2 separate regions of the Homo sapiens genome follow, and region 2 is linked to region 1. The links are contacts of gene promoters, found by promoter capture Hi-C in blood cells and fetal thymus (Javierre and others, 2016). All regions are on one chromosome and are shown on one strand. Each heading gives the region's core, a stretch centred on a gene start or on the middle of the fragment in contact. The rest is flanking DNA. Distances are from core to core; before and after follow the strand shown. Region 1 holds the start of ASTL (astacin like metalloendopeptidase). Region 2 overlaps SNRNP200 (small nuclear ribonucleoprotein U5 subunit 200).

Region 1 (5,277 bases), core at 1,380-3,879:
CTGTCAGGAAGCAGTGGCTTCTTCCAGCCTGAGCCACACTCCTCAGAACAGGCCCTGGGGTCTCCTGCCCACCTCATCCCCCATCTATTCCCCACCCATCTGTTATATTCAGGCCCCTTGAGGTGGCAATTTTGTTCCACAAATTTGTTCCACCATCAGAGGCAGGCAAATACCGGCTCTCGCAAGCCCCTCTCCCCTCTTAGTCCCTCTGCTTCTCATCTCTCCCTGAGCCGGGTCTCCCACAAGTGACTCACAGGGGGAGTGAGGGAAGCAGGAGAGAAGGCAGGGAAGAACCCAGGCACAGCCTCAGCCAGATCCCATGGGCGCTCCAGACCACAAATGACACCGCTGACTTGTACCACCTTTAGGCAGGAGCCAGACTCCTGTCCCTTAGAAGTCACAGTAGGCCACCTTGGGCAGACAAGGGAGTAGCCCCCGGGCATCTCTGGCTGAGGCAGCTCCTTCTGGCCAAGGGCCAGTTTTGGGAGGCAGACAGCTGTGCAGCATTAGCCATATTCACAGTGGCTGGAGATGGGCAGGTGCTTCCCAGGAAAGCACTGGGTAAGGCACGGGCAGCCCTTATGAGACAGCCTCACCGTAGGTGATAGGATAGTTGTTGGGGTCACCAGCATTTGGGAGTTTTCTCCATTGGTTCTGGTTACCTGCAGACCACTCACGGTGATCCAGGGGTGGGATGGTGCCTGGGGCTCAAGGCTCAGCTGGCGCTGGGCTCCCAAGTCAGCTCACAGAGGAAGAAGGGGGCAGATCACACAGTGGCTACCACATCTGGTAGGATCTCACCCACCCTTAGGGCAAGGTTGTCCCCTGTTCAGCCCGATTGCTTCAACCCTGAGTGCTTCAGCCCTCATTGCTCCAACATCTGAACTCCAGTCTCCATTTCAACTGGCTTTGTTCAGGCTATTTATACACCCTCATTCCTCAGCTGACATCCCCAGACAGCAAGGCCCTGAGCCTGACTTTTGTTTTTTGTTTTTTGTGAGATGCTCTGTCGCCCAGGCTGGAGTGCAGTGGCGCAATCTCAGCTCACTGCAAGCTCCGCCTCCCAGGTTCATGCCATTCTCCTGCCTCAGCCTCCTGAGTAGCTGGGACTACAGGCGCCCGCCACCACGCCCGGCTAATTTTTGTATTTTTGGTGGGGACGGGGTTTCACTGTGTTAGCCAGGATGGTCTCGATCTCCTGACCTCATGATCTGCCCGCCTCAGCCTCCCAAAGTGCTGGGACTACAGGCGAGAGCCACCGCACCCAGCTGAGCTTCAGACTTCTTAATCACACCTGCAGACAGTCCTGCACAGGGTGGCTGACAATCTCAGACTGCGACTAACCGCTTAGCTCCACGCCCAGGCCCTTTAAGAGCTTGGTTTTTCTTATAAAAGTAACAATCCACTAAGAAAGATACAAAAAGAAAGAGTAGACTTAAGCAATTGCCCATAGAATTTCCACCCATTCACACCTGTAGTCCCAGCTGCTCGGGAGGCAGAGGCAGGAAGATCACTTAAGGCCAGGAGTTCAAGACCAGCCGGGGCAATATAGCAACACCACTCCATCTCTTAAAAACCACTTAGAGCCCAGAGTAAGCTGGTCCATTTCCTCCCAGGCTCTGCATTTCTGAGTGTTCGGTGTGGTTTTCACACTACATAACGTCGTGCCCCTCCAGGCCGTGAGAAGATGTAGTGCCCTCACCTTGGTTAATTGCAGGAATGTCCTTGTCCCCGGAGGCCTGGGTTCCCTCAGGGGTGAGGCCATCTGGGAAGCTGGTACCACAGGCTCCTGCGCAGCTGGAGGCCAGGGGCGCTCCTAGGATCACACCTGGTCCAGACAGACAGGGGCATACACAGATGCCTGGAGCACCCACCGGTGAGACCAGACAGCAGGACATGGGGTGGGTGTGGGGGATCAGACGGTAAGACTCAGTCCCTAGGAAGAGTAGGCTCCAGCACAAAGCCAAGGAGCCTTCCCAGCCTCCCTGCTCAACCCCAACTGGTGCCAAGGTCTAGATGACCTCAGGGAAGGAGCTCCCTTAGGGGGACCAAAAGGGACCATGTGCCCCACCTATGAGGTAGAGGAGGGGCAGGAAGGAAGGAGGCAGGACAGACCTCGGGTTCTGACGCCCGTGACGGGCAGGGCCAGCCTCAGACCCCACCTTATGACTCTCTCTCAGCCCAGGCTCTTGGACAATGGGCTCAGCCTGGATGACTCCCTGCCTGACCAGGCTGGAGTGGGGACTTACAGCCTACCCCCACCCCAAGACAAGTAGGCCTGGGGCACAACACTTATCTTCTGCCAGGCAGGCCCTCTGCTTCCAGGGCCTTCAGGAGGCCTCCCCTTGGCCCCCCAGGAGCTGACTTCTAGAATAACCCTGGAGAGCTCTGTGCTCTGAGCTACTGAGCTCAGCTACAATCCCTGCAGGCTCCAGCCACAACCTTCTAGCCTCTCCCCAGCTTTCTCCAGGCTGGAGCCAGCAGCAGGAGGGACAGGCAGCCAGCTTACCTGGCAAGGAGAGCAGACCCAGCACCCAAGGCCAGAGACCCCCTACACCCTCCATGGTAGAGCCCTGCTGCCCCTTCAGCAAACAAGACCAAGCCCCAGCAAGACACAGTAACCTAATTGCAGAACCGGCACCACCACCCCCTCTTAAATAGCAGCTGCTCCACCTCCCACCTTGCTCCCCTCAACCGCCTCCACCTGCAGCCCCGCCCCAACCACCTCCACCTGCAGCCCCGCCCCAACCATCTCCACCTGCAGCCCCGCCCCAACCACCTCCACCTGCAGCCCCGCCCCAACCAGCTCCACCTGCAGCCCCGCCCCAACCAGCTCTACCGGCAGCGCCACCCAAACCAGGTCTACTGGCAGCCCCTCCGATGCCTACCTGTGGTTCCCACCCCAGCCCAGTCCCCTTCCTGGCTGTAGCAGGTGAAAGACAGGAGGGGCCCGCTTGGGAGTGTGGCTCTTCTGAGGTTCCTTCCTGCCTCCAGGGGGCAGAGAAACATCGCAGAAAGTTGCTCCAGGCCTAGCTGAGGCCCCAGCCCAGGTATAGACCTATTCCTCCAGCGAGGGAGACCCCCTTTCCTACCCCGGCCTGTGCTTAGACATGGGGAAAGCTGCCTGAGACCCTGGGGCGCCCCCCGTGTATCTCCGGAAGGAGGAAAAGGTCACTGCACTTTCACAAGCTTTTATTTTAGTACACATATAGAAAAGTTCACTATCACAAGCACAGGGCTCCAGGAAATTTCACAAACTGAACAGTGTGCAGCACCCTAGAAAGCCTGCCATGTGGGAAAGGTGGAACCCCCAGATGCCCAGAGCCTCGCAGGGAGTCCACCCCCTAATCCCACAGCAGCTGGCATGATCAGTCAGTATTTATTCCCATTTCACAGATTTGGAAATTTAAACTCCTTACCTATATCCCCCCTCCTCCATACCCCTGAGCCCCAGAGCCAGGTCACTCAGGGCCCCACCTGGATTGAAATCCCAGAGGCGGAGCATGTCAGCGCTGGGCAGCATTTGGGGACACCCCCACAGTCACCTGCACCCAGTGAAGGGAAGCGACAGAGCCAAGAAGAATAGCTATTGTCCACAAGGACCTTTCAGCATTCCCACTGTGCCTGGAATCCAGAGCTTCTCCAAAGATAGGAATCAGAATCACAGGGAGACCATGATGGAGGCAGACGCCCTGCTGCCAGGGCAGGGTATTGACAGATGTCAGGATACACACCATGGATATGCTAGTTAGCTTGTTGTGGTCATCATTTCACAAGGTATGCATATGTCAAAACATCACGTTGTATACTTAAACATATACTACTTTTATTTGTCGATTATGCCTCAGTAAACCTAGAAAAAATAAGTAAAATAAAGAATAGGACCCATCAAAAAACAAATGCACAAGGCTGACCACTTAAGATGAGTGTTCAGGAGGGCGCGGTGGCTCACGCCTATAATCCCAGCACTTTGGGAGGCCAAGGCAGGTGGATCACGAGGTCAGGAATTCAAGACCAGACTGGCCACCATGGTGAAACCCCATCTCTACTAAAAGAATACAAAAATTAGCTGGGCACGGTGGCGGGCACCTGTAATCCCACCTACTCGGGAGGCTGAGGCAGGTGAATCACTTGAACCCAGAGGTGGAGTTTGCAATGAGCCAAAATCGCGCCACTGCACTCTAGCCCGGGGGACAGAGTGAGACTCCATCTCAAAAAAAAAGATGAATGTTCAGTAAAAAAAAATAAAGTAGACCGGGCGCAGTGGCTCATGCCTGTAATCCCAGCATTTTGGGAGGCCAAGGCAGGCAGATTACTTGAGGTCAGGAGTTCGAGACCAGCCTAGCCAACACGGTGAAACCCCATCTCTACTAAAAATACAAAAATTAGCCAGAAATCCCTTGAACTCAGGAGGCAGAGGTTGCAGTGAGCCAAGATTGTGCCACTGCACTCCAGCCTGGGCAACAGAGTGAGACTCTGTCTCAAAAAACAAAAGAATTAAAATAATGATAAGAAATAATCACCCTGCTTGGGGAGAGAAACAGAGTCTTTATTAGGACATGCAGTTGGTCTGAGGATATTTTGCTGAGCGAAACAAGCCAGTCACAAAAAGACAAATCCTGCATGCTTCTACCTCCAAGAGGTGTCTAGAGTAGCCCAGTGCACAGGGACGGAAAGTGGAACGGAGCTCACAAGGGGCTGGGGACTGGGGAGGGGAGTTATCATTTAATAGGTATAGGATTTCAGGTTCGCAAGATGAAAAAGCTCTGGATATCTGTGCACAACGATGTGAATACACTTTACTAAACACTTGATAATGGTAAAGATGACCAATTTTATGTTGCATTTTTTACCACAATTAAAAGTTTAAAAATTTAATAAATAGGAAAGAAGGAAAGGAGGAAAAGAGAGAGAAAGAGAAGGGCAGTTTGCTAGATGACAAGCTATAAAAAGCACGGGGAAGGAAGGAGAGGGGATTGGGGCTGGGTAGGGTGGGATGGGGTAGGGCCAAGGGTGGGGGGTGGGCAGAGGCCTCAGCCACCAGTGCAGCTGTGTGTGAGATGAGGCTGTGTGGTGTGAAGTCCCCTATGACTTAGAGCCCCAGATGTCCCCCACCCACCCAAGCTGGGCATGGGGGTACAAGTGGGTCCCAACAGATGCCTACTCAGCTCCTAAGGAAGGCAGAATAGCAACCCCGGCTCTGCCCAGTTCACACTGGAGTGGCTCACCCCACCCCTCAGACAGCAGTGGGAACAAGAATCACCCTTCATTCGGCCT
Region 2 (5,277 bases), core at 1,538-4,037, 150 kb after region 1:
GCACTGCTCTCTTTCCCTCACTGGCCTCTAGATCCCCTCCATGAACACTGGAAACCTAGGCAGCATATGTATCACTCTGTCCCCAGCAAGGGCAAGCCCGGGACAAAGTGCAAGACATTCTTCTACTGTCCTTGGAGGGACTGTTCCTGGGGACTCTGGAGAGGAGACACTCACAGAGCCAGCGGTCAGACACCACTCGGATGAAGTACTGAGGGGGCAGCGGTTCAAAGACAGGCACGAAGAATGTAATGAGGTGCTCGTCCTGGGCGTACTTGGCCTTGAGGAGAAAATACTCATGGTGCAGAATCACCTCGCTGTCCACATCCTCCACCAGAATCCAAAAAGCCTCGGATGAACCATGCACCTGCCAACAGGAGCAAGGGTAAAAGGAATGTGAGTCAACGTAGACTGAGTGCCTCCAATCCATCTCCTCGGCCCAGCAACGTAGACTGAGCACCTCCAATCCAGCACCTCTGCCCAGCAAAGCCTCACCTTTTCATCCCACTGGAAGTCTGGCGTGATGGTCAGCTCCACCTTCAGGGTGGAGCGTGTGATAGGCTGCAGGTGCACTGACAACTCCAACTTGGGAAACAGATGGACATATTTGTGGATGGTCTTCCCCATCTTTGGCATGCGGATAAGCTCCCCTACAAGGAAATGAGAGTACTGAGGCTGCAGCCCAGCCTGCCTACTATACTGCAAACTGGGCCTGAGGGCCACTGTGGGAAAGGGGTAGGGTCTTCCCTTTATGGTCAGTGGAGCCCAGGATTCCAAGTCCCCAGACCAAGGGCCAGCCTGTACTTCAGTGGGACTTGGGGAGTGAACACAGGATACTAATGCACAGGCCTAGGAACAGGAAGACTACATAGGCAAACTGGGAGAGACACCCAGGCAGTGAGGACAAGGGCGAGAGCATCCCACACACCAATCTCATTATGATTCAGGTCGTACAGACGCTCAAAGGGGAAATTCTTCTTCTCAATCTTCTTCACTACTTCCTCAGGGAGTTTCCGGAACTGGCGCAGAGGACACATGGACTGCCACCTATCCAGGAAGGAGGCAAAGCTGTTGGTCCCTTCTGCAGGGATGTGACAAACCACCCACTTCATGGCTTCCAATAGTTTAGCAGTGACTACACAAAACACAGTCATTAAAGGCAGACACTGACACTGTGCCAGCCCTGGCCTCCACCACAGAGGGCCTTCCCTCTTCTCAATGTGCACCAAGGTTCAGGTCATACTTCCGATGTCAGGTCTGGAGATCAGATGCACCCTGAGGCTTTCCCATCAGACCCTTGGGTTGGGGACCCCCACTCATGGTGACCAGCATCCAGCTCACTGGGTCCTTACATGCGTTTGTCGATCATCTTGCAGAGGTTCAGGGTCTTGTCTGTAAGCTGTGCCCAACCTCGGTTCAGGACAATTTCAAATATCGCTCGCATCAACCGGCCAGCCGACTAAGCAAAGAAGCAGCATTCCCACTGTTAAGTCTCGACTATCCCCAGGCCTCATGAGCCACTCTACACACGGTTTCATTACCTCCAGCTCTGACACAACCACCCACCCTAACTCAAAGGCAAAGTCCCCTCTGTCTTTACGCCTTTCTCCGTTCCATATAGTAGATGCTTGCCGGATGGGGAACAATTAGAAGAGTGCTGCGGCTCAAGGTCACTGCACAACATTTTAACCTAACATTCACTGCATGATTTTAAAGCTTTTGAGTCATTTAGCATTTAGAGTTCTAGGAAGAGTTGAGGGTACCAGTGACCTGTTCTTAGAGGTAAAGATGAAGAGCAGCTAATAAAACCCTGTGCCATTTTTGGATTTATTTATGAGCTGTGCAGCAACAGTGGGAAATCACTTTGCTGCTGGGAAGCAGACACTGCGTGCTGTGGCTCTTCCTGTCTCTCTGAGGGCCCGTGGAGCCTCGAAGCATTCCCTCTTAAGGTCTTACCTTTCCCACGTGCTCAAGATGTATACTACAGAGTGGCTGTACCACACATGCACCAACCAACTACCCGGCAAGAGCAGAACTAAGCACTCCTCCCATCTCACTAGGGTCGGGCCTCCTTTCCCCAGGATGCACACAGCACACAGGGATTGAACTGTTCAGGCCCCTTCTCACAGCTGCCATACAACTCCGCTCTCACCTGTGTGACATACACCATGTCAGCCATCAGTGCAAAGCCCTCCAATTTCAGCTGTGAGATGAAGGCTTGCAGAAGAACGTTGATCTGTAAAGAAGCAAAATCAGCCAGCAGGAGACCAATCACTGAACAGTCCAAGAAAGGGAATTACATTTCTGCTCTGAGCATCCAGGCCAGGTGAGATTTGCTACAGGTCTTGATTTACAAATACTAAATAATTGTTATTTCATATAAAAAGAACATGCGAGAAGGCTGCAAAAACTAGGAGAACTGAGCAGGAAACCACACATGAACCCAAATTCAAGGTTCATCTTTTAGAAGATTATGAAAACCACTTAATCCTCATCCTTATCAAAGCAAAGAGGAGAGGAGCTCACCTTAGCACTGGGTTCCTCAATGCTCTCCTTTACAGGGATAGGCACCCTCTCCAGCAACTTCTGCAGCTCCAGCTTCTCCTCCTGCCACAAGGAGGAAAAGGTCAAGGGAAAGCCTTGTGGCCGAGGAGGGACACCATTCAGTGACTTGGTGAGCACCAACTCCCCGCCCCATCATGCTGCATAGGCTCACCTCTCTCACTGTGATGTTCTTGAACTCAGAGGACAATGAGAAGACCCTGAAAAGCTCAATCTCACTCAGGGTGGGCTTCAGCAGCTGGTTGTAAGTCTGCACTGTATCATTGGTGATGTAGTAGTGGCTGGCTATACGGCCCAGTTCTGTCACCTGGAGAGAAGGTAGACTCAATCCAGTGCTGACTATTAATGAGCTCCAACCTCTAACTGTGGACCATAAGTTACTGTCCTATAGGTTTTTTGTACTTTTTTTTTGGTAAAGTATATGACCCAATGTCATTATTGTCCTAATAGGACAACTGGATGAAGTCACAGCAGTACAAGTGCCAGGCCCAGGCACATGAAGAAAAACAGCAGAATAAGCTGACCCATAGTGAAATGATGTCTGCACGGACAAGACAGCTGAATTATCCACCTCAAGTTATGGGAAAAGCTACCCATTTTTCTGCTGTTCTAAGCAACAGGTGATTAGATAGGCAGTACTCACATCAAGAGAGCAATCTGAAAAATTTTTTCCTGGGCCAACAACTTTTGCTGAGACCTTTGCCTCAAAACCCTCACCCCACGCACCTGGAAGTTGCCCGTCTTCTTGTCGTACTTGACCAGATTGTTCTTGTCCAGCATCAGGGCAGCTGTATGAACCAGATCTAGTCGGCGCTGGTCCAGCAGGGGATCTCCCTTGAGGTCATCATGAGAGATGCCATAGAGGGTTGGGGATCGCAGCATTCGGATATAGAGGTAGGCATAGCCCAGCCAGTTCACCGCATCCTACAAGACACAGCTCATGGTTCTTAGCATGGAGAAACTCTTGATGTCCAAATGACAGGCTCCCATGAATTGCTTAGAAATTAATTCCCAACTACAAGGATGCATATTACATCGTATTCTGAATGTTTTTAGCATTTCATTATTAAAAAGATCTAAGCGTCTTCTAAGATCTTGGTAACAAGGGGAACTATCTGCCAGACCCAAGATGTGGGTGCAGGGATGGAAGGCCTCGGACGCTGCTGGCCCGCAGCACAATAGGGACCGACCCACTCCTGGTGCCTTGGTGTCTGCGGGGAAAGCATGAAGCACAACAAGCAGTCCTCCCCTACCTTGGCATTCTGGACATTTCCTAGCACGATTTCTGCATTGAGCATGTCAGGAAGCTTTGAAACCATCTGGCTTTCAATAGGAAGTTGTTGATTGAGGAGGGACAGGTAGTACTGTAGCTCCCCATGAGATGTGATGAGTATGCCTTCACCCTTGGTGTCATACTGGGGTCTTCCGGCACGTCCCAGCATCTAGATCAGAGACAGCGAACCAAGAATGCTATGTCAAGAGAATGTCTGAATTTTGATGCAGGTATCTACATTACAGAACTAGACCTCTGATCTGCTAGCTTTCCAGCATCCCTGCATTTCAGGCAAGGATACTGATCCCTGCTGAGAATAAACTCAAAAGGCTCTGTACCTGCAGAATGTCCAGTGCTCCCAGTTCTGTCCAACGCCCCTTCTCTGGACTGTACACCTGGGTGCCTTTGATGATGACTGTATGTGCAGGGAGATTCACACCCCAAGCTAGAGTTGCTGTGGAAACTAAAACCTACAGAGGCAAAACAAGGTAATGAGGAGAACAGATGCCATCACCAGGGGTTAATATCCCTGGCTTCTCTAGGCAGTTGGCCTCAGAGCTTCTCTCAGGACTAGCCGGTAGGGCGCGTGGGGTCCCAGTACTTGTCAATGTGACACCAGAATAAAGAGGAAAGGTTTCCTTGGGTTCCTCATCTATTCAGTAATGAACATTTCAAGGTTCCAGAGGCACAAGTGCAGACTTGTATTAAACAACCTTAAAGTTACTAGAAAAGGTAAAACAGAGCCTATCCGGAAAGAGGGAACGACAAGGGCACGCGTGCCCCCATGAGACACTGTTTGGAGCTATCTGAAGTCACCAAAGTGCTTGCTTCACTATGCTTCTCAGACTATCCTAAACTCAAGCAAGGTGGGAAGAGTTGGGAGAGTAGCATAAGGTTCTATTTATTGTGTCCACCACAACCCTCTGACCTGGGCTAGCTGGGCCAGAAGCAATAAAGTACCAGGAGCAAACATGGCACAAACTTGACATTGCCCATCTTCTGAAGTATGTCCCACCTGCTCCTCCAAACGCTTTGCACCCCCTCACCTGAATATGTTTATCAGCAAAAAGATCCTCCACGAGTGTTCGGTCAACCCTGGTCATGCCTGCGTGATGAATAGCAAAGCCATAAGGCAGAAGATCCTTCAGCTCTAGGTTCTGTGGAACAAAGAACCGGGGATGAGGCGAGCCTTCCTGTAGGACTCATCCAAGGACTAAGGAAATCTCCTCCCATGAGACCCTGCCCCTTAACTATTATGTGGAATAGTAATAATCACATCCAGACAATCAACCTTAACCCATGGGAAACAACAATACCACAGTACAGTCCTAGAGGAGCTGTCTGGGGCCTGAGATGGACACAGCTGCCAGGTAGGAATGAGAGAACCCAGCTGGCCCCTCCTCACCTTGCACTGCTCAGCTTCTGTTCGCAGGACTTCTGTGGAG

The links. The method cuts DNA at HindIII sites, captures the fragments that hold promoters and counts their contacts. A CHiCAGO score of 5 or more calls a contact.
Region 2: a contact is called between a fragment that was not itself captured here and the fragment with the promoter of ASTL in region 1, in 4 of 17 cell types (M1 macrophages, M0 macrophages, naive CD8 T cells and 1 more). The highest score is 8.9, in M1 macrophages.

What each region holds. Positions count from the first base shown.
Region 1 is chr2:96,135,873-96,141,149 of GRCh38, forward strand. It overlaps ASTL (astacin like metalloendopeptidase), which reads right to left and starts at 2,630. Exons shown (of 9, transcript NM_001002036.4): 1 at 2,510-2,630; 2 at 1,703-1,828. The coding sequence starts at 2,564. RefSeq lists enhancers at 95-144, 2,485-2,554 and a silencer at 3,445-3,534. The HindIII fragment of the contact is 4,955 bases long and covers 1-3,187 here.
Region 2 is chr2:96,286,514-96,291,790 of GRCh38, forward strand. SNRNP200 (small nuclear ribonucleoprotein U5 subunit 200) reads right to left here. Exons shown (of 45, transcript NM_014014.5): 17 at 5,238-5,277; 18 at 4,879-4,989; 19 at 4,171-4,302; 20 at 3,813-4,001; 21 at 3,286-3,483; 22 at 2,714-2,866; 23 at 2,524-2,604; 24 at 2,150-2,233; 25 at 1,350-1,456; 26 at 926-1,044; 27 at 493-647; 28 at 175-364. Among named protein-coding and RNA genes, the nearest start is that of SNRNP200, 16 kb to the right of the region's middle. The HindIII fragment of the contact is 2,153 bases long and covers 1,712-3,864 here.